7 separate regions of the Homo sapiens genome follow, and regions 1, 2, 3, 5, 6 and 7 are each linked to region 4. The links are contacts of gene promoters, found by promoter capture Hi-C in human tissues and cell types (Jung and others, 2019). All regions are on one chromosome and are shown on one strand. The core of a region is centred on a gene start or on the middle of the fragment in contact, and the rest is flanking DNA. Distances in the headings are between cores, read along the strand shown.

Evidence for each region. Contacts are between HindIII fragments. The study calls those that stand out against the background at their distance.
Region 1: a fragment that was not itself captured here is called in contact with the fragment with the promoter of UVSSA in region 4 in 1 of the 25 tissues and cell types used here (H1 embryonic stem cells).
Region 2: a contact is called between a fragment that was not itself captured here and the fragment with the promoter of UVSSA in region 4, in 2 of the 25 tissues and cell types used here (aorta and spleen).
Region 3: a fragment that was not itself captured here is called in contact with the fragment with the promoter of UVSSA in region 4 in 4 of the 25 tissues and cell types used here (H1 embryonic stem cells, dorsolateral prefrontal cortex, lymphoblastoid cells and 1 more).
Region 5: a contact is called between a fragment that was not itself captured here and the fragment with the promoter of UVSSA in region 4, in 1 of the 25 tissues and cell types used here (lymphoblastoid cells).
Region 6: a contact is called between the fragment with the promoter of IDUA here and the fragment with the promoter of UVSSA in region 4, in 1 of the 25 tissues and cell types used here (dorsolateral prefrontal cortex).
Region 7: the fragment with the promoter of FGFR3 here is called in contact with the fragment with the promoter of UVSSA in region 4 in 1 of the 25 tissues and cell types used here (liver).

The regions. Positions count from the first base shown.
Region 1 is chr4:910,857-913,556 of GRCh38, forward strand. GAK (cyclin G associated kinase) reads right to left here. Exons shown (of 28, transcript NM_005255.4): 3 at 1,879-1,938; 4 at 817-931. Among named protein-coding and RNA genes, the nearest start is that of GAK, 20 kb to the right of the region's middle. RefSeq lists enhancers at 1,033-1,938, 1,939-2,700 and a silencer at 1,689-1,847. The HindIII fragment of the contact is 5,304 bases long and covers 1-2,700 here.
Region 2 is chr4:1,040,070-1,042,852 of GRCh38, forward strand. All of the region lies in intron 1 of LOC105374343 (a long non-coding RNA gene), which reads left to right. Among named protein-coding and RNA genes, the nearest start is that of FGFRL1, 30 kb to the left of the region's middle. RefSeq lists silencers at 1,271-1,469, 1,850-2,031. The HindIII fragment of the contact is 9,265 bases long and covers 1-2,783 here.
Region 3 is chr4:1,648,907-1,651,606 of GRCh38, forward strand. All of the region lies in intron 4 of FAM53A (family with sequence similarity 53 member A), which reads right to left. Among named protein-coding and RNA genes, the nearest start is that of FAM53A, 34 kb to the right of the region's middle. The HindIII fragment of the contact is 7,179 bases long and covers 1-2,700 here.
Region 4 is chr4:1,345,859-1,348,558 of GRCh38, forward strand. UVSSA (UV stimulated scaffold protein A) reads left to right here and starts at 1,350. Exons shown (of 14, transcript NM_020894.4): 1 at 1,350-1,902; 2 at 2,232-2,331. The coding sequence starts at 2,234. RefSeq lists enhancers at 1-113, 1,959-2,038 and silencers at 409-498, 719-1,048, 1,289-1,728. The HindIII fragment of the contact is 13,201 bases long and covers 1-2,700 here.
Region 5 is chr4:1,702,037-1,704,736 of GRCh38, forward strand. It overlaps SLBP (stem-loop histone mRNA binding protein), which reads right to left. Exons shown (of 8, transcript NM_006527.4): 3 at 1,560-1,664. Among named protein-coding and RNA genes, the nearest start is that of SLBP, 8.9 kb to the right of the region's middle. The HindIII fragment of the contact is 4,119 bases long and covers 1-2,700 here.
Region 6 is chr4:985,610-988,309 of GRCh38, forward strand. It overlaps IDUA (alpha-L-iduronidase), which reads left to right and starts at 1,435. Exons shown (of 14, transcript NM_000203.5): 1 at 1,435-1,633; 2 at 2,200-2,340. The coding sequence starts at 1,476. It overlaps SLC26A1 (solute carrier family 26 member 1), which reads right to left. Exons shown (of 3, transcript NM_022042.4): 3 at 2,048-2,700. RefSeq lists an enhancer at 1,022-1,081 and silencers at 1,292-1,941, 1,724-1,901. The HindIII fragment of the contact is 27,782 bases long and covers 1-2,700 here.
Region 7 is chr4:1,792,037-1,794,736 of GRCh38, forward strand. FGFR3 (fibroblast growth factor receptor 3) reads left to right here and starts at 1,257. Exons shown (of 18, transcript NM_000142.5): 1 at 1,257-1,429; 2 at 1,797-2,007. The coding sequence starts at 1,899. RefSeq lists silencers at 1,075-1,314, 1,365-1,514. The HindIII fragment of the contact is 26,733 bases long and covers 1-2,700 here.

The DNA of each region.
Region 1 (2,700 bases), core at 107-2,606, 430 kb before region 4:
AGTTCTGGAGGGCATCGGCACGAGGCAGGGCTGGGGGTGGAGCCGCCCTCTGAGGCACAGGTCTTGTTTCCCCTTTGCAGACACAGCCTGAGGCTCAGCAGGGTCAGGCCAGGTCTCCGGCCAGTCAGCGTGGGCTCCGGTGACACCAACACGACATCCCCCGCAGTCACTCACACAGACCACTCTGCCCCTAGAACTCTCCGAAAGCACCACCCCAACCCACCGGCCTCTCTTCCTGTCCTGACAAACGGACCATGGAGTCGTTGTGCCATCTTCCTGGGCTCAACCCTGATGAGGCTGGGCACCCACAGAGGGACCTGGAGTTGTCCACCTCTGCGGCCTCTCTTCTCCTTGCCAGGACCCCAGAGCCCCTGACAAGGACGGACAGCAGCACTCCTCCACCCTGCTCAACACCGCTCATGGAAGGCCACCACGCTCCACCCCACAGGGACCCCAGAGCCCTGAGAAGGACAGACGCTCCTCCACCCCTGCTAAACACCACTCACGGAAGGCCACCACGCTCTACCCCGTGCTGCCACTGGAGACAGGCAGGATGGGAGCCCGGCTCTCTGGCTGCCCGCAGCTCCACGAGGAGACGATGCAGGTGGCCCACCGGGACAGTGGGAAGCTCACTGGGCGTCAGCGTGGGCCTCTCACAGAACTACTGTCAGAGAGCTGCCCGCGCTTCCCGCTAAGACCAACACAGCTTGAGAGAAGATGCCGGGCATGTTTCACAGCCATGCAGCTGGGTTAGGAGGCATCAAGCCGGCCTCTGCTGGGTTAGATGGCACCAAGCCGGCCTTCACAGGACGTTACCTTTACAGAGCTCTGTGAGCAAGAGGAACTCAGCCTGCCCCGTGTCTGACTCCTCTTTTCCTATAGACGCTGCAGAACAAAACTGGACAATGTTCGGGTGGCCGGAAAGCTTTTTCTGCAGTTGTCTTGTTAAAGGAGAACGTACATAACCATGTCCACAGTTCTGTGCACTTCAAAATAAATGTAGACAATATTAACACACTGAAGTCAGAATACTTGAATCGAACCCTTACAATTTTAGACGTCAGAGCGGAAGATGAGGGAGAGAGCAGTGGACGACCGAGAGAAAGGCAGACAGAGGCAGGAGGAGCTGCAGGAGAGGGCGGGGACAAAGGCAGGCACACCGGCCACACACACCTGACCACAGCGACACCAAAGTCCATCCCGCGCGTGGCAGGAGGAGGCAGGGCCCTCAGGGGGCTGTGCGCAGGGAGGCTGCGGCGTGGCTGTGTCCACCCGAACCCACACTCAGGCAGCCGGCGGGCTCTCCGAGTGAACAGAGCTAGGAGAGGAAAGAGAGGCAGAGTCTGAGGGCAGCCAGGGCCGAAGACTCCAGGCTCAGGAGGGACATGTGGCAGTGGACAGGGAGTGCAGCCCCCAGATCCTCTGTCAGCGCCGGGAGATGCCCCGCCCAGTCATGCTGGGACAGCCTGAGAAGGGACGAGAGGGGCGGCTGAGAAGCCACATCGGGGCCTGTGGGAGCCAGGCCATCTGCACGGCTCTCAGCCAGGTCTCCGGAGGAGCTGAGGGGGCCGGGCCGGGCAAGGGCCCCCTGTGGTAACCAGCCCATCCACTGGGCAGGGAGACCTCTTGGGTAGGAACAACTTCATTCCCAACACTTCTGAATCTTCTACTATTACCCTGGCAGTAAAAAAAAAACAGAAAAAACTGCTTCTTCCTAGAAGTCGCCTACAACTAGGTTTGGTAAAAGCAAAAAGCCGATTTTAACACATGAAAGACAACGTCACGGAGCAGCCTCTTGGCCACTGGCGGTCACAGCTTGACGCAGGCCTGTGCCTGCCAAAGCCACCGTGCTGGCTCCTGGTTCCAGGAAAAGGATACCATGAAGCAAACTTCTTGAATGATGGCTCTGTTCTTTTCCTCTTCATTGGATAATAGCCTCTGTATCAGGAAACAGCACACACAAAAGATGAAAGCAAGTTTACCTTCCTACTCCACCCGATGCATCATCTCAGACATAAGCACGCAACAGAGCAATGCAATGTGTCTAATACAGCTCCCCCCGTTTCGTGTGTCTCCACCTCTGACCCCTGTAAAAACGTGCTGGGGGTTCAAGACCCTCAAAAGATCTTTGTGATGCAAGGACACAAGAAAAGTCAAAAGCAGGAGCCTTTCCCCAAATGGGCCAGAGTAAAATGAGACAGACAAGAAGGAAGAGCGGCAATGCTCTGCAGACACGGGGGCAGCAGGCGTGCAGACCACGACAACAGGCCCACTCATGCCCACTCTCAAAGGCGGGGCCACCCTGGTGCCCAGCGTGGTGACAGCAAATGGGGCCTTCTTACGTCTCAGGACAAAACTGCACAGTACAGACCCTCCCACAGTGACCCCTATTTACAGAAATGCTAGCAACAAATATTTTTTACAAGCAGCTTTTAAACTCCTTGTATTCATAGAGCCCTTATTTTGGCACATGGAGGCCAAGAGGGCATGACCCCACCATGAGGTCACCCCCAGCACAGCCCCTGCCACAGGGCAGGCAGGGCCACAGGAGTGTGAAGCCCAAAGCTGGAGACCAAGGCTCCTGCAGTGCCCAAGGCTGCTGAGATTCAGCAGAAGCAAAAGGGACAAGTATGTCCAGGCTGTAAAAGGAAACAAAGTACGTAACAGGGACGCATCCCTGAAAAGACTGTCACCAGACAG
Region 2 (2,783 bases), core at 180-2,679, 310 kb before region 4:
GTGGGCCTGTCACTGAGGAACCCTCGGTCCTGAAATGGGCAGCACCTGGCCATGGCAGGCTGCAGCCCACACCGTGGTCAGGGAGCCTGGCTGTAGGAGGCCTCATCTCCCAGGTGTGCCCAGGTTCTGCATTCCTGCCGCTCCCTCAGGCACCTCCCCAGCCTGGCAGGGCCTCACTGGCAGGAGGCGAGGGAGCCCGGTGCAGACACAGGCTTCCGGGCTCTGAGTCCTGACTTGGGTCTGAGGCTTCACGATCCCTTTTCTGCAAAGGTGTCACCTGGTGCTGTAGTTGTGTGTGGGGCTGGGGTTTCGTGTGTGTGTGTGTACATGTGCATGAGTGGGGATGTACACGTGTACTGGGGTTTCCATGCACGTGCGTCTGTGCACACTTGAGCAAGTGCACATGTGGGTGCTCTGTGTGTGTGCATGGCGTGTGCGTTCGTGTGTGTGTGTGTGTGTGGATGGCGTGTGTGTTCTCGTGTGTGTGTCCCTCACTTCCCTACTGCCTAGGGTCAGGGCAGTGCTCAGGGTCCTAGCACCCCTTGAACAATGGGGTGACCAGGACTGCAGAGGGGCACGTGGCAAGGGGGTCCCAGGCTGCCTCCGTCTGTCCACCCAGGCAGGGTGGGCTGCGGAGGGTGCTGGCAGGCAGGCTCCTGGTTGGCCTAGTGCCCCTGGGGAGCAGGCTCAGAGGTGCCGTGCACTCTTCCCACTGTGCTAAAGCTTTGGGGCCTGTAAGGATGTTCCTGCCATGCCAGGCCCCTCCCCAAGCTGGGGTCAGGGCCCGTGCCCACTGCCCGGCACAGGCCTCCCGCTGGCTGGCTGCTCTCCTTGGAGGGCAGAGAGCATTCTTCAGAGTGGCATGGTTGCCAGACCAAATGACAAAAGTGCCCACTGGGTAGACCGGAGACCCCAGGCTGGCAGCCCGGCTGCACCCCCAGTTTCACAGGAGGCACTTTAACGCCAAAAACATCTGGAAATTGTTCCAAGGACTGGATTCCAGCCTTCGCCTTTGGAAGCTCAGCTGCCCCTGTGGAGGGTGGGAGGGCCGCTGGTTCCACAGGGCTGGAGCTGGGGCCATGAGTTCCATGAGCAATTCGGCCTCATGGGTGGCAGGCCCACGGCCACCGCAGGGCTGGCGGCACCCGCTCCCCTCCTGCTGCTCCCGCCTGCTGGCGCTGGCCACTCGAGCCGCCGTGCCTCTGAGTGTGGCCCCTCCGATGGCCAGTCTTGAGGTGGTGAGGGTGGTCATTCTAGAACTGTGTGTGCATGTGTGTGTGTCGGTGCACATGTGTGCATGTAGGTGTGTGTGTGTGTGTGCTTAGCTGAGGCTGCACCCCCCGGGGGGAGGCGCTGGCGAGTGCACACACACACACACACACACACACACCCCTGCATGTGTGTGCTGGCGCCTGTCAGCTCCTCCCCCGGAGGTGCAGCCTCAGCTAAGCCACCTCCCCCAGCCCCACCGGAGCAGGCGAGGAGCCACGGAGGGACCTCAGGGGGTGACCCCAGCCCCTGGGGGTCATGTGAATGGGGCTCCACCCAGGCCAGGAATCCGGCAGCACTTTTGTTCCTTTTCACAAAAGGCGAGCACGACGCCCCGTCTTGCTCACCGCTCAGTGAGCGTTACAAACGTTTGCCAACACGCACCTCCCTCTGCGCTGCCTGGCTGCAGCCAGCCAGGAGTGTCCGTCGGCTTCCACAGCTCCACTCTGCAAAGAAAACAAACCCAACAGCAAGGATGTTCTCCTTGAATGCTCTGGGCCGTGCTCTCGAATCAGCAGCCAGCCTGTCCTCAAAGGGGTCTTGGCTCAGAAACATCCTATCGTGCATCGTTTTCTGCCAAGTTTCAGTCTAAGATGTAAAAGTGGAGAAACCAGAAGCACTGCAAGTGAAAATAGAATAAAGGGAGACATCCCGTGTGGGAGCAAAGTAAGAGAAGCAACCAGCACAGCGGGCAGGAGGGACACTGGTGCCGCCACACCCGAAGGAGCCGGGTATCCACACTCCCGCAAGCCCTACCTCCCCTGGGGGCCCCCACCCACCAGGCCACACTCCCCTGCTGGCAGGAAACATGGAGTCAGGACCAAGTCACCTGCACCTGGGGCCATAAGGAGCTGAGCAGCCACCAAAGACCACCGTCCTCCAAACCGTTCTCCAAGTCCAGGGTCCTGCTGCTCTCCTCAACTCCCTCAGCCTCCCCAAATACTGAGTCTGAGAGTGCCCCCCAGCAGGGACTGGGCAGAAGTTTACACACACACACACAGACACACCCACCCCCACACACCAACACACAGACAAATATACACCCACCCCCACCCAACCCCCACCAACCCACTTCCACACCTACACCCACACATGCACACACGCACATCTACACATGCACACCCACACACACACCGACACACACACCGACACACACACCTCCACATACACCCCCGCACACTGACACACCCACACACACACCGACACACACACCTCCACAAACACACCCCCCGCACACTGACACACACCCACCCCCACACACTGACACATCCACCCCCCACACCGACACACACCTACAGTGACACCCGCACACTGACACACACCCACTCCTGCACACTGACACCCACTCCTGCACACTGACACACACCCCCGCACAGACACACACCCACCCCCGCACACCGATACACACACCTACCCACACACCCACCCCACACACCAACACACACCCACCCATCCCCGCACACCGACACACAACCCACCCCCGCACACTGACACACACCCACCCACTCACCTCT
Region 3 (2,700 bases), core at 136-2,635, 300 kb after region 4:
GTTCAAGACCAGCCTGGCCAATATGGTGAAACCCCATCTCTACTAAAAATACAAAAATTAGCCAGGTGTGGTGGTGGGCGCCTACAATCCCAGACACTTGGGAAGCTGACGCAGGAGAATCTCTGGAATCTGGGAGGCAGAGGTTGCACTGAGCTGAGATCATGCCACTGCAGTCCAGCGTGGGCAACAAGAGCAAAACAGAAAGGGAAAGGGAAGAGGAAGGGGAAGGGGAAGGGGAAAGGGAAGGGGAAAGGGAAGGGGAAAGGGAAAGGGAAGGGGAAGGGGAAGGGGAAAGGGAAAGGGAAGGGGAAGGGGAAGAGGAGGGGAGGAAAGAAAAGGAAAGAGAAAGAAAGAAGGAAACAAGGGAACAAAGAAAGCTCTGCACCTGCCTATCCTCTCTGTAAGCCCCCTACCTGTCTGTGGCCAACCAAAGTCCAGCACAAGGGGTGGGAGGCACCAGAGCCAGCATCAATGCTAACACCATTCCACAAGCACCGTTTCTGACCGACACTCCTTACGGAGAAGAGCGGTTTTGAAATCACTCCCTTCAAAAAGTGGAGCCCGATCCTCCTCCCACTGAGTAAGGGCTAGACAGAGTTAAGGAGCAGACGAAATCTCAGCTGGTGAGGACCAGGTCACACAGGGCTCTGTGGGGCCCGCTCATGCCCACTGGGGTCACTCATTATGGGAAATCAAGCTGCCACATCGTGAACACACTCAGGCTGCCCCTCAGGGAGGCCCATGTGGCAAAGAAATGAGGCCTCCTGCCAAAAGCCACATGGGTGAACTTAGAAGCAGGTCCTGCAGCCCCAGTCAAGCCTCCAGGTAACCACAACCTGGCTGACTGAGCTCCAAGGAGGCCTGAGCAGAGCCTCCCCATCGGCCTCCGGGACCCCTGAGGTGGCTCAGGCATGGTGTTTGTGAGGTGGCTCAGGTGTGGTGTTTGACAGTGAGGTGGCACAGGCGTGGTGTTTGTGAGGTGGCACAGGCGTGGCGTTTGACTGTGAGGTGGCACAGGCGTGGCGTTTGACTGTGAGGTGGCACAGGCGTGGCGTTTGACTGTGAGGTGGCACAGGCGTGGCGTTTGACTGTGAGGTGGCACAGGCGTGGCGTTTGACTGTGAGGTGGCACAGGCGTGGCGTTTGACTGTGAGGTGGCACAGGCGTGGTGTTTGTGAGGTGGCACAGGCGTGGCGTTTGACTGTGAGGTGGCACAGTCATGGTGTTTGACTGTGAGGTGGCACAGGCGTGGTGTTTGTGAGGTGGCACAGGCGTGGCGTTTGACTGTGAGGTGGCACAGGCGTGACATTTGACTGTGAGGTGGCACAGGCGTGGCGTTTGACTGTGAGGTGGCAAAGGCGTGGCGTTTGACTGTGAGGTGGCACAGGCGTGGTGTTTGTGAGGTGGCACAGGCATAGTGTTTGACTGTGAGGTGGCACAGGCGTGGTGTTTGACTGTGAGGTGGCACAGGTGTGGTGTTTGTGAGGTGGCATAGGCGTGGTGTTTGACTGTGAGGTGGCACAGGTGTGGTGTTTGACTGTGAGGTGGCACAGGCGTGGTGGTTTTTGGTTTTGATTTTGGTTTTTTCTGTTGTTTTTGTTTTTGTTTTGAGACAGAGTCTCACTCTGTCGCCCAGGCTGGAGTGCAGTGGCGTGATCTCAGTTCACCGCAACCTCCGCCTCCAGGTTCAAGCGATTCTCCTGACTCAGCCTCCCAAGTAGCTAGGACTACAGGCGCCCACCATCATGCCCAGCAAATTTTTGTATTTTTAGTAGAGGCGGGGTTTCACCATGTTGGCCAGGCTGGTCTCGAACTCCTGACCTCAAATGATCCACCCGCCTCAGCCTCCCAAGGTGCTGGGATTACAGGCGTGAGCCAGTACACCCGGCGGGTTTTGTTTTTTTTTTAACACAGGTGTGAAGTTTGAAGCTGCTGGATTCAGGCTTGCTTGTCCCAAGAAGAGGACTAGGACAGTGCTCACGCATCTTCATTGCAGAGAATTCACTCGGGCATTGATATCAAGATTGAGCTGGCTAGATGCAGTGGCTCACGCCTGTAATCCCAGCACTTTGGGAGGCCGAGGCGGGTGGATCACGAGGTGAGGAGTTCGAGACCAGCCTGGCCAACGTGGTGAAACCCCGTCTGTACTAAAAATACAAAAATTAGCTGGGCGTGATGGTGGGCACCTATAATCCCAGCTACTCGGGAAGCTGAGGCAGGAGAATCCCTTGGACCCAGGAGGCAGAGGTTGCAGTGAGCCAAGATCACACCATTGTTCCATTGCTCACCAGCCTGGGACAGAGCGAGACTCCATCTCGAAAAAAAAAAAAAAAAATTAAGAGAGGGCCGGGCACGGTGGCTCACATCTGTAATCCCAGCAATTTGGGAGGCCGAGGCAGGCGGATCACCTGAGGTCAGAAGTTCAAGACCAGCCTGGACAACATGGTAAAATCCTATCTCTATTAAAAATACAAATATTAGCCAAGCGTGGTGGTGCATGCCTGCAACCCCAGCTACTCGGGAGGCTGAGGCAGGAGAATTGCTTGAGTCCGGGAAGTGGAGGTTGCAGTGACCGGAGATCGTGCCACTGCATTCCAGCCTGGGCAAAAAGAGCGAAATTCTGTCTTAAAAAAAAAAAAAAAGATGGAGATTAGAGGCAACAAAGCCAACTAGGATGATGTCTCAGTAGCCGAAGAGGGTA
Region 4 (2,700 bases), core at 100-2,599:
TGAGAACTAGTAACAACAAAAAAAACCACGCTGTAGAAGACAGAGGGAAACTGCTGGATGGGTGCCTTGGAGGAAGCCACAGGCCGGGGATTGGATGCACAGGGCAAGGGGCGCTGAGGGAGGGTCTGGCTGCAGCTTGCTCAGTGAAGCAAGAGGCAGGGTGAGGAAGGGGTGAGGCGGAGGAGCGGCTCGGGGCTGGCTGCAAGCTAGGAGCTGGGAGCCACTGACGCCCAGGGACAGAAGCTGGTGCTGCAGAGAGGGGCGGCGCAGGGAGTCCCTCTTCTTTTCCTTTTTAAAATAATTGCTTTACTGAGATATAACTCACACATCCTGAAACCCACCCTGTAAAAACACGATTAACAGAGTTGTGAGCTACCACCACCGTAATGCAAGGGCACGCCCATCCCCCCGAAAAAGAAACCCCGGCCCGCCGCCGGCGGCCCCCGCCCTGCACCCAGCCCCGGGAGCCCAGTCGGGCGTCTGCTCTGCGTGGCCTGTGCCGGGCGCCCCGCGAGTGGGGTCCACACCACGCTCCTCCGAAGCCACGGTTTCCCAAGCGCGGTCTCCAGGTCCGTCCGTCCGCAGCCGACCTCGCACTCCCCTGCGTTCGAGGCTGCGGACTTCGGCGGCAGGACGGACGGCGCCTCTGCTTCTCATTCCGCCCAGGGCCAGCCCGGGCCCAGGGGTACCTGCTGTGCGTCTGGCGCCGAGGTGGGCCCCGAAGACCCCCAAGCCCGCCCAGGGATTCCCTTCCCGAGGCCGGAGCGGGGAGGCGCCGCGGGGTTCAGGGCGCCCTGCGCGGGGCGAGCTCGGGGGCGGGGGCCCGCGCCCGCCCGTCTGGGCGGTCCTCACCGGCCCTCTGCAGGTGAAGGGACCTGGCTGCGAGCCCGCGGGCGGGCGTGGCGTTGAGGCCCAGACCGGAACTTCCTTTCGGCCTCAGTTTCCCGGCCGGCCCCGCCCCCGGCGCCCGTACATGCGGCCCCTTTAAGGACTTTCTGCGCCCTCCCGCCTCTTTTTTCTCGTGCGTCCCCCTCCCCACCCCCGGCAGCCTGCCTCGCCCTCGCCGGGAGCGCGCCTACGTCACCGCGCAGACCTCGGCCGCGTCTTTGCGCCTGCGCCTCCTGGGCTGGGGTGAGCCATTGGCTGTCGAGCTCAGGGCACGTGCTAGGGGGCGGGGCCTTGACCGGAAAGGGTGGGGCAACGGCGAGAAAGGCCGCGTCGAGCGGTAGGTGCAGTCGTCGCTGTGGTGACCCCAGGTCCTGATGCGTCCGGCCCAGGGCCAGCCAATGGCGGTAGAGGTCTTGGGCACCTGACAAGAGGGGCGGTCCCCCCGCCGGAAGGGGCGGGGCGAGGCGAGCGGCCGCGTCAGCGGTAGGTGGGGCTGTGGTTACGCTGCCGGGCGGGGGTCGCGCCGGTTCGGTCCCCGGGGCTCTGCGGGCGCCGGGCAGAGACCTGCGGCCAGGGCGTGTCCCGTGTGCCCGAGAGCGCCGGCGGCGGGGCCGGAGGGCGGGCCCTGGGCCGAGTGACAGGCCGCAGCCCCCCGAGCACCGTCGAAGCCGGCGCGCCCGCCCGGTGCAGCCGCTGTGCGAGAGCGACCCCGCGGTCCAAGCCTCGCGTGGCCCTGCCGGGCCCCTTCTTTCCCCGAGTAGGGCGCAGCTTCCCAGCCTCCGCCCCGGCCTCGCCTGGCGCTTCCTTCCGGGTCCTTCGGCCTTTCCCTGGCGGTGCGGCAGGCCCTCGCCTCATCCCACCAGGCACGCCGCGGTGCTCGGCCCTGGGTATCCGGGCAGGCTGCCTCCGTTAGGGCCGCCCCTGCTCTCCGGACGCGACTTTTCATTGGTCTCAGAATTTCTTGGCTCCTCTTGGCCTCTGCAGCCTTGCTGGAGGCTGCCCTGCGGAATCTGAGTGAATAAGGGAAACAGCAACAGTCACGTTGGGGAAAAGCTGATTCGGACAGCGCCACTGGTTCCTTTAACGCACGACCCTCAATGCAGCGTCCCACACACGGGATTGTAGAGGTCCCGAGTTTAAGGTTCACTTTTAAAACTGCAATCACCGCCGTAAAGGCCTTGCTGGACACACATATTTCCCAGAGAGGCACCCACAGATGGACCCCAGCCTCAGGGTCCTCCCGGAGCTTTCGGTTTATAGTGGAACCCAGTAAACACGTTAATAACACCGAGAGCTATAAAATACAGATGGTGATATAGCATCTCTGCCTTACTTATTTCTAGATATGGATCAGAAACTTTCGAAGTTGGTAGAAGAGCTCACAACTTCAGGAGAACCCCGACTAAATCCTGAGAAAATGAAGGAACTGAAGAAAATTTGCAAGTATGTCTTAGGGTTCAGTAACAGTAACTGACTGGCCCACTGAGCCCAGGACACACACAGGGCCCTGCCCTCCTGCCCCCACCTGGGAGAGAACCACCCGAGGGACACACCCAGGACATTTTCTCGGGGCCCTGCAGTACCCGGCTCTGACGGGTGGTCATGTTCTGGGGTCGGGGCGTGTGGCGTTGGGGACCCCACTGCTCTGTGGTTGGTGCTTCTCTTCATTCCCATTTGTGTGGTCTGGAGCACATCCTGTAGGAGTTCTTGAGTGCACAAATGTGATTCAGAGAGAAACGTGCATCTTTTTCTTTGCTGCTGGACTTTTCGAAGGGAAAGAATAGAGCTTGCTGATGGGCGAGTTGGTCCATC
Region 5 (2,700 bases), core at 100-2,599, 360 kb after region 4:
ACAAATAGGGTCCACTCACAGGACAATCTGGACAGGTGGAATACGCATGAATAAGAGCTGCAGATAACCCCTGGCAAGGGGTGACTTGAGGGAGCAACTAGGCTATCGGTATGCAAGAACTGTTCTAAGACTTGTGCATGCAACACAAACTATACAAGTCAAGTCAAACATTCTAATTTTATAATTGAGGAAGTCAAGACCTATATAAATGCAATAATTCACTAAAAACACTGGTACTCTCATCTGTGAACTCCTAGTTCATTTCTTCTACCAAGGCATACATCCACCCACACATTTTGATACCAGAAGAAATGACAAATAACTCCCCCAAATGTTCAATAACCAATTCCCACATATTCCCGTCCCTTTTCAAAGGAGGCTGATATAAATACCATCACTGGCTGCCAAAATGAAAACAGGTAGTCTAGGTATCGTTCCGCGGCTGACACGCAAGACACATTTTTCTTGAGACCCTGTTTATCAGCCACTTGTTGGCTAAAATTATCTTGTAAAATACTTCAACCAATTATGAGCCACATTTTAACTGGGTTTGAATAAACCCAGTCCTTGCAACTGGGTTTGAGTTAGACAACTCATCAAAAGAGAAAGGATCAACACACTGATAATCAAGGGAGATTAAACATGGTTAAGGATGCATTAGGTAATGAGTCAACGAAGACGAAGTAGCTTAGTTTGCAAGAACTTGGATACACACAACAATCTTGTGTGCAACTGCAAGAGGTTCACAGAATCCAAGTTTGAGACCTTTCCTTGTATGTTGGCATTTCTGAGCTGTTTGTTGCCTAAGCCAAGTGTCAATGTATTCCTTCATCTGGAGAGAGCACTCCATCTACTGTGCTGGGTTGTGTGAGCACCGCACACAGAAGGTCGGTGGTAACAAATGACTATAGTAAGTTCCTGATAGTTAGGCCGGGCACAGTGACTCATGCCTGTAATCCCAGCACTTTGGGAGGCCGAGGTGGGCGGATCAGGAGTTCAAGACCAGCCTGACAAACATAGTGAAACCCCATCTCTACAAAAAATACAAAAATTAGCCAGGCGTGGTGGCCTGTGCCTGTAATCTCAGCTACTCAGGAGGCTGAGGCAAGAGAATCGCTTGAACCCGGGAGGCAGAGGTTGCAGTGAGCCGAGATCTTGTCACTGTACTCCAGCCCGGGCAACAGAGCGAGACTGTCTCAAAAAAAAAAAAAAAAAAAGAAAGTTAGTTCTGATAGTCCTCCAGCCTGCAATCCAGCAGTAACACCATTGTGCACCTACTTCCACTCTTGGAAGGATTACCACCAAGAGGACAGTGGTCTTCAAGCTTGAAAGAGTGGACCCGCCTGGAGGGCTTTTCACAGGATGGCCAGGCCCCACCCCATTCGCAGGCCCAGGGAAGGGTCTGAGAATCTGTATTTCTAACAAGTTCCCAGGAAATGTTGATGCCTTTGGTCTGGAGCCCAGACCTTTGAAAACCACTGTTCTAAGACAAATATCAAATTTAATGTGTTACTGAAAACGCCACAGATTAACACTTCAAGGTGGTCCAAAATGTGTACCTTGCCATTTCTTTGTTAACTCTGGTCCTCATTTCATCTTCTTCAACTGCACTTGCCCAGTCAGAGCATCTGGAACGGGGTTTAGGGCCTTCAGGAGTGGTAAAGCTGCAATAAAAGGAAAATGCTACTGAACCATGACACATACTTTGTTTTCTTTCAAACTGTATGTCAAGAAATATTCAAAGGCTGGTGGGACACAGTGGCTTGTGCCTGTAATACCAGCACTTTGGAAACTGAGGTAGGAGGATCACTTGAACCCAGGAGTTCAAGACCAGCATGGGCAAGATAGTGAGACCTCATCTCTGTCCCCCACCCAAAAAAATAAAAGCATTATATCAGTGAACTATGTGTATCAAACCATACTAAACTGGAGTTTAGCAGGACAAAAGCAAACTAGATGTAGAACATAACCTATCAGCTGCATCTGTCTATCCAGGGCTGTCTTACTAGAGCAGAAGTCATGGAGCTCCTTGGCAGTGTGCCCACTGTGTTTGGGGGTCTAATAAAACCAACTAGATTTTAGACTTCAAACTAAATTATGATTCCTTTTGGGTGTCCACACTTCAGTAGTCCAGGGCTATCATATGGCTGAAATCAACTTATTTCGTTCATCTCTGGTATGTGTTTATAAAGTCATTAAGATGGGAGATTTGCTTCAAATTTTTGCAGTGTGTGTGGCAGTCAGAAAAACCCATATCTAGTTTTCAGCTTCAGTTCTGGCATTTCTATGGGTTAACCTTATCTCATTGATCCAACATCCGGCCTGATGCTGGAGCTTATGAAGTTGACTCTAAGAAGTTCAGAGAGTGTAGAGTTTCCCATCTTGTATTTAATTTGTCTCTATGCCATTAGTCCCAGCTTGAAGTCATTACCAATGTCAATGTTGACAGGATTGTGACAATATTGCCTTTCATAAAACCGACCACCAAAGAATTCCATTATTCTAACAAAGCCCGAGTTTCACAGATCGCGGGCACATCTAGACAGATGTGTGCATGCTTGACGGTGCAGAGCAACTACTCACTTCCAGCAACCTCGTGCTTCCCCTGGCTGGCCATACAGAGGGATTCGCTGTCATACTGAGAAGGCTCTGCAAGGTAAGTCTCTAATTGAGGCTATCTCAGGTGGGTGTTTCCGCTGT
Region 6 (2,700 bases), core at 185-2,684, 360 kb before region 4:
TGGAGACAGTTCTGTACTTGCATGGTTTCTCTCGCCTTTCCCTCCCTTTCTTACTTTTTAGTTTCTTAATGAATTTTTTTGTATTATGTTTTTCCTCCTTGCTAATTTGGAATATATACACACTATTTCACTTTTAAATGGCTAATCACTTTTAATGCAATTTCAACATAAGAAGACCTAATGTTAAGCAATATTTTAACCCCTCTCCCCAAAATAAAAAGACCCAGAACACTGTAACTCTAATTATCCTTCTCCCAACTTAGAGAGGATTATTGTCCAGTATTTTCGTTTTGTTAGTAGACTGTTCTTTTTTTCTTTTCTTTTTTTAGAGATGGGGTCTCATTTTGTCAACCAGGCTGGAATGTAGTGGTGTGATCATGGCCCGTCTCAGCCTTGAACTCCTAAGCTCAAGCAATCTCCCACCTCAATTTCGTGGGTAGCTGGGCCTCACAGGCATATACCATCGCATCTGGCTAAATTTTTTTTTTGTACAGATGGGGTCTTGGTACATCTCCCAGGCCGATTTCAAACTCCAGGCCTCAAGTGATCCTCCCGTGTTGGCCTGCAATTCCAAAGTGCTGGGATTGCAGGTGTGAGCCACCGCACCAAGCCTGTTCTTTCCATTATTATTTTTATACAATGTTTGCTTGGATTCACACATGCATACATGGACTACACATGTACTACAGTTGTCCCATGGTATCCTCGGGGTATTGGTTCCAGGACCCTCCCAGATACCAAAATTTGCAGGTGCTCAAGTACTTGATATAAAATGGCACAGTATTTGCACATTACCTACGCACATCCTACTGTGTAGTTTAAATCAAGATTACTTATAGTCCCTAAAACAATGTAAATGCTCTGTAAATAGCTGTTATACTGTATTGTTTTAAAATATGTATTATTTCGTATTGCTTTGGCTTTAAAACAATATTTTCAGTCTGCTTGGTTGAATCCATGGATCTGAAGCCAAGTGTAAGGAGGGCCCAGTGTGCTCTTCTGGGGTAATTCTCCTTCCTGCTAAAGCGCACGCTTTACTCAGGAGGCTGGGGTGAGAAAATCGCTGAAGCCCCGGAGATGGAGGTTGCAGTGAGCTGAGATCGCGCCACTGCACCTCAGCCTGGGCGACAAAGCAAGACTCTGTCTCAAAAACACACAAAAACAGAGAAAAACAAGACAGTAATGGCTCAACTCACATAGCACCAACGGGCGAAGCGTTCTTCTGAGCGCTTTCCGAGTCATCGGTCCTCAGAGCAGCCCCTGAGGCCCGCAAGGAAGCGGGGCTCCAAGCCCTGCCGTGCTCCCGGCTCCCCGAGGCTCCCCGAGGCCACCCAACCCCTCCCACCCGGCCATCGCCCCCTCACCAAGGCCCCGCCCCGCGGCGGCGGTCACATGGGGTGCGCGCCCAGACTCCGACCCGGAGGCGGAACCGGCAGTGCAGCCCGAAGCCCCGCAGTCCCCGAGCACGCGTGGCCATGCGTCCCCTGCGCCCCCGCGCCGCGCTGCTGGCGCTCCTGGCCTCGCTCCTGGCCGCGCCCCCGGTGGCCCCGGCCGAGGCCCCGCACCTGGTGCATGTGGACGCGGCCCGCGCGCTGTGGCCCCTGCGGCGCTTCTGGAGGAGCACAGGCTTCTGGTGAGCGCTCCGCGGCCTCCGGGACCCCCTGGCCGCACGGGGAGAGCTCGGGCGCCCCCTGACTGCGCACTGTGAGAGCTTCAGAGACCGGAGCTCCCTCCTCTGGGGCCCTGGCTCTCCCGGGCCCGCCCCCCGCCGTGTTTGTGGGTGGGTCCTCCACCTGAGTGGGCGCCGGGGCGTGAGCCTGGGCCGCCCCCTGCAGCCCAGGCCGATGCCCGGGATCCTGCTCTTTGAGGTAAACCAGGAGTCTCCCCTGGGAGTGGACGGCCCTGCAGCGGGACCTGGCCTGCCTGTCCCATTCCTTCCACCTAGAGCTGAGGTACCCGCCTTCCTGGCAGGGCCAGGGCCAGGGCTGGCGTTGGCCCCTCGTCTTACTGCTGCTGCCGTTCCCCATGAAGATGGGACCTCCCCACATTCCTGGCCCTAAGGGTCATTTTATTAGTCACTGAACGCACGGGCAGCGCCTGGATCCTGCGCCCGGGCAGTCCTGGGCTTGAACGTGTGTGTCAGCCGCGCTGCCAGCCATGCTGAGGCTCGGGACTGAGCCGCCCCTTTGTTGTCCCCAGCCCCCCGCTGCCACACAGCCAGGCTGACCAGTACGTCCTCAGCTGGGACCAGCAGCTCAACCTCGCCTATGTGGGCGCCGTCCCTCACCGCGGCATCAAGCAGGTCCGGACCCACTGGCTGCTGGAGCTTGTCACCACCAGGTGGGCGGCGGGCAGGGTCTGGGCGTCCCAGAGCCCCTTACAGAGGCACAGATGGGAGGGGAGGGCTGGGGGCTGCTCGGAAGACCCCTTGTTCCCCCACCTCCCGCCGAAGCACCCTGTTGGGGAGAGCGTGTCCTTGCTGGCTGTGCTGGGGTGAGGGCTGTGTGCTGGAGGGAGCCCCTGCATGGGGCACGGTGGGCTTCCTGCAGGTCTCCCTGCAGGCTCAGGGTTGGCTGCGCCGCACCTGGCTCCTGGTGCACCCGTGAGCATCCCTGTGTGTGTCTGCTGGCCAGGCTGGGTAGGGCCACTGCACCTGAGGGCTGAGCTGAGGTCTCATCGGTCACAGCACCCTGGGCCCTG
Region 7 (2,700 bases), core at 7-2,506, 450 kb after region 4:
CATGGGCTTGGCCAGAGCAGGAAATGAGGGTGGCCAAGGACAGGTGCTGAGCCACCGAGTCGGCACAGAGGGGTGGGCATGAGGGCTTCCTGGGAGCAGGGCCCTTCCAAGTCCCTGAGGTCAGCCCAGGGACACCCTGGCCTCTGGGAGATTCATGGTGGGGCTGTGCATGGGCTGGGTGGGGTCAGCAGGCAGCCAGTCACTGAGGGGCTTTCAGCGCCCATTTTCCTGATGAGCACCTCCAGTCCTGGAAGCCACAAGCCAGGCACGCAGCCCACCCGGCCGGCCCTCCCGGCCAGCTCACTGGCTCCCATGGGCCCCGGACCTCCTTGGGCTTTGCCTGAAGGTGGGAGCAGATGGCCTTTTCCTTGTGAGGGTGGACACAGAAGCCAACAGTCATGTGGGGTGAGGGGACCCAGGCACCTCCAGCGTCCCCCGCAGGGCAGCACCTTCCCCTCCTGGGAACCCACCCCTCTTCAGCTGGACTCTGAGCCCACCCCGTGGAGCCCAGAACCTCGGGCCAGCTCAGGCTCTGCCACCAGCTCTCTGTCATCCTCCCTCAGAGCCGGGCTGTGCTCCCCAAGCCAGGGGTATCCAGCCCCCGCTCTTCATCCTAGGCCGGGCAGGCAGCCAGCCCCAGGCCTGTGTCCTCCTTGGGGGGCGGGGGGTAGGGACCCCTCGCGCGGGGCTCTCAGGCGGCTTAGCTGCGTGCGGCCCCAGGTCAGTCAACGCAGCCTCTGCACCTCGCCGGTCAGGTACGCAGGCCGCGCCGGGCTGCCCCAGACCTGCGGCGCACACGGGAGGCTCAGCCTGGAATGCCGTCCTGCCCTCCTCCACCTGAGGAATTGCCGCTCACACCACAGGGTTCAGCTCCGCGGCATCTCGGCGAAGCCTCCTGACATCCCGACCCCCGCCGAGACCTCCCCTCTGAGCTCCTGAGCACAGCCCCAGGGGACCCGAGCTGCGCGCTATGCAAACACAGGCCTGCCCTCGCCCTCGGTGCGCCCCGTGCCCGCCGCCCCCTGGGCCGCCCCGCGGTGCGACTAGGGGCCTAGCCCGCCTGCCCCGGCTCCCACGCCCTCGAGACCGCCGGGCGCCCCCGCCCGGCCACGCCCCCTCGGATGCCCCGCTCCGCCCCGAGGGGGCGTGCCCTGCGCCCCCGCGAGCCGGGCGGGGACCGGGCGGGAGCGGGGCGGGGCCGGGGCGGGGCGCGGACCGTCCCCCACTGGCTGCGGCGCGCGGGGCAGCCCAGGCTCAGTGCGCGGTGGCGGCGGCGTCGCGGGCAGCTGGCGCCGCGCGGTCCTGCTCTGCCGGTCGCACGGACGCACCGGCGGGCCGCCGGCCGGAGGGACGGGGCGGGAGCTGGGCCCGCGGACAGCGAGCCGGAGCGGGAGCCGCGCGTAGCGAGCCGGGCTCCGGCGCTCGCCAGGTCCGTGCTTGGGGCCGGGCAGGCTCGCGGAGGGGTCCAACGGTGCTCGCGGAGGGGTCGGGGCGCGGCTGTCGCGGAACCACAGAGGTCCCTGCAGCGGGCCGGGCCGGGGCGCGGGCTTCCCGCTCCGGAAAGTTTGCCGCCGCCGCCGCCCTGGGAGGGCTTTGCAGCAGCCAGGGAGGGAAGGGGGAGGAGGGAGGGACCGCGGCGGGGAGGAGGCGGCCGGCGCCAGGCGGCCCGGGAGCCCTGGGCGGCGGCGGCGGCGGGCGGGGCGGCTGGGGGTCGGAGGGGTCGGGACGCAGGAGCCGGCCACCGCCGCTTTCGTCCCTGTCCGCCCCTCTAACGAGCTGCCTTCCTCCTCCTGTAGTCTCCCGAGCGGCGCCCGCCTCCCGCCGGTGCCCGCGCCGGGCCGTGGGGGGCAGCATGCCCGCGCGCGCTGCCTGAGGACGCCGCGGCCCCCGCCCCCGCCATGGGCGCCCCTGCCTGCGCCCTCGCGCTCTGCGTGGCCGTGGCCATCGTGGCCGGCGCCTCCTCGGAGTCCTTGGGGACGGAGCAGCGCGTCGTGGGGCGAGCGGCAGGTAAGAAGGGACCCACTAGGCACGGGAGAGGCCGGCCCGTGCGGGCAGAGGCGTTGGGGACGGGAACCGGCCCCGGGTCGGAGGGGCCGCCGGGTGTGAGTGACGCCCCGGGGTTAGAGCCCGGATTCCGCTGCCTCCTTGCCGGAGAGCGCGGCCAGAGCTAGCGCGGCGACTTGTGGTGCGCCCGGAGCCGCAGCTACCCTCCAAGTGCGAGGCCACCACGGGGAGCCAGGCTGGGGGTTGGCGTCCGCAGCCCCGATCCCCTGCGACTCCCTAGCCCTGGCCTGTCGGGAGGGCGCGGGGGGCCCCATTTCCACGATTCCCGCTGTTGTTATTCGGGTTCTGCGCAGACGGAAAGTTCCCATTGTTGGCGTCCCCCTCCCCCGGGCCCCAGTTTGTGGCCAGCTTCGGCCAAGGCGAGAGACCGGACTTCTAAGGGTGGGTGTGCGCGTCAGCGAAGCCCGGCCCCTGCCCGCCCGAAGAGGCAGCAGCCTCCAGCGTCCCCGCTGCCGACCCTGCCCCTGCCTGGGGGCCGAGGGCGCTTCCCCGTGGGTGCGCGCCGAGCTCCAGGCAAGCGAGGGGCGCGTGTCCCAGCGTCGCGGGCCCTAGACTGGGCTGGCGGTCCAGGTCCCGCGGGACGTCGAGGGTCTGAAGGGAGGTCCCAAGGGGCGAGGGGAGGGGAAGGGGCGCCCG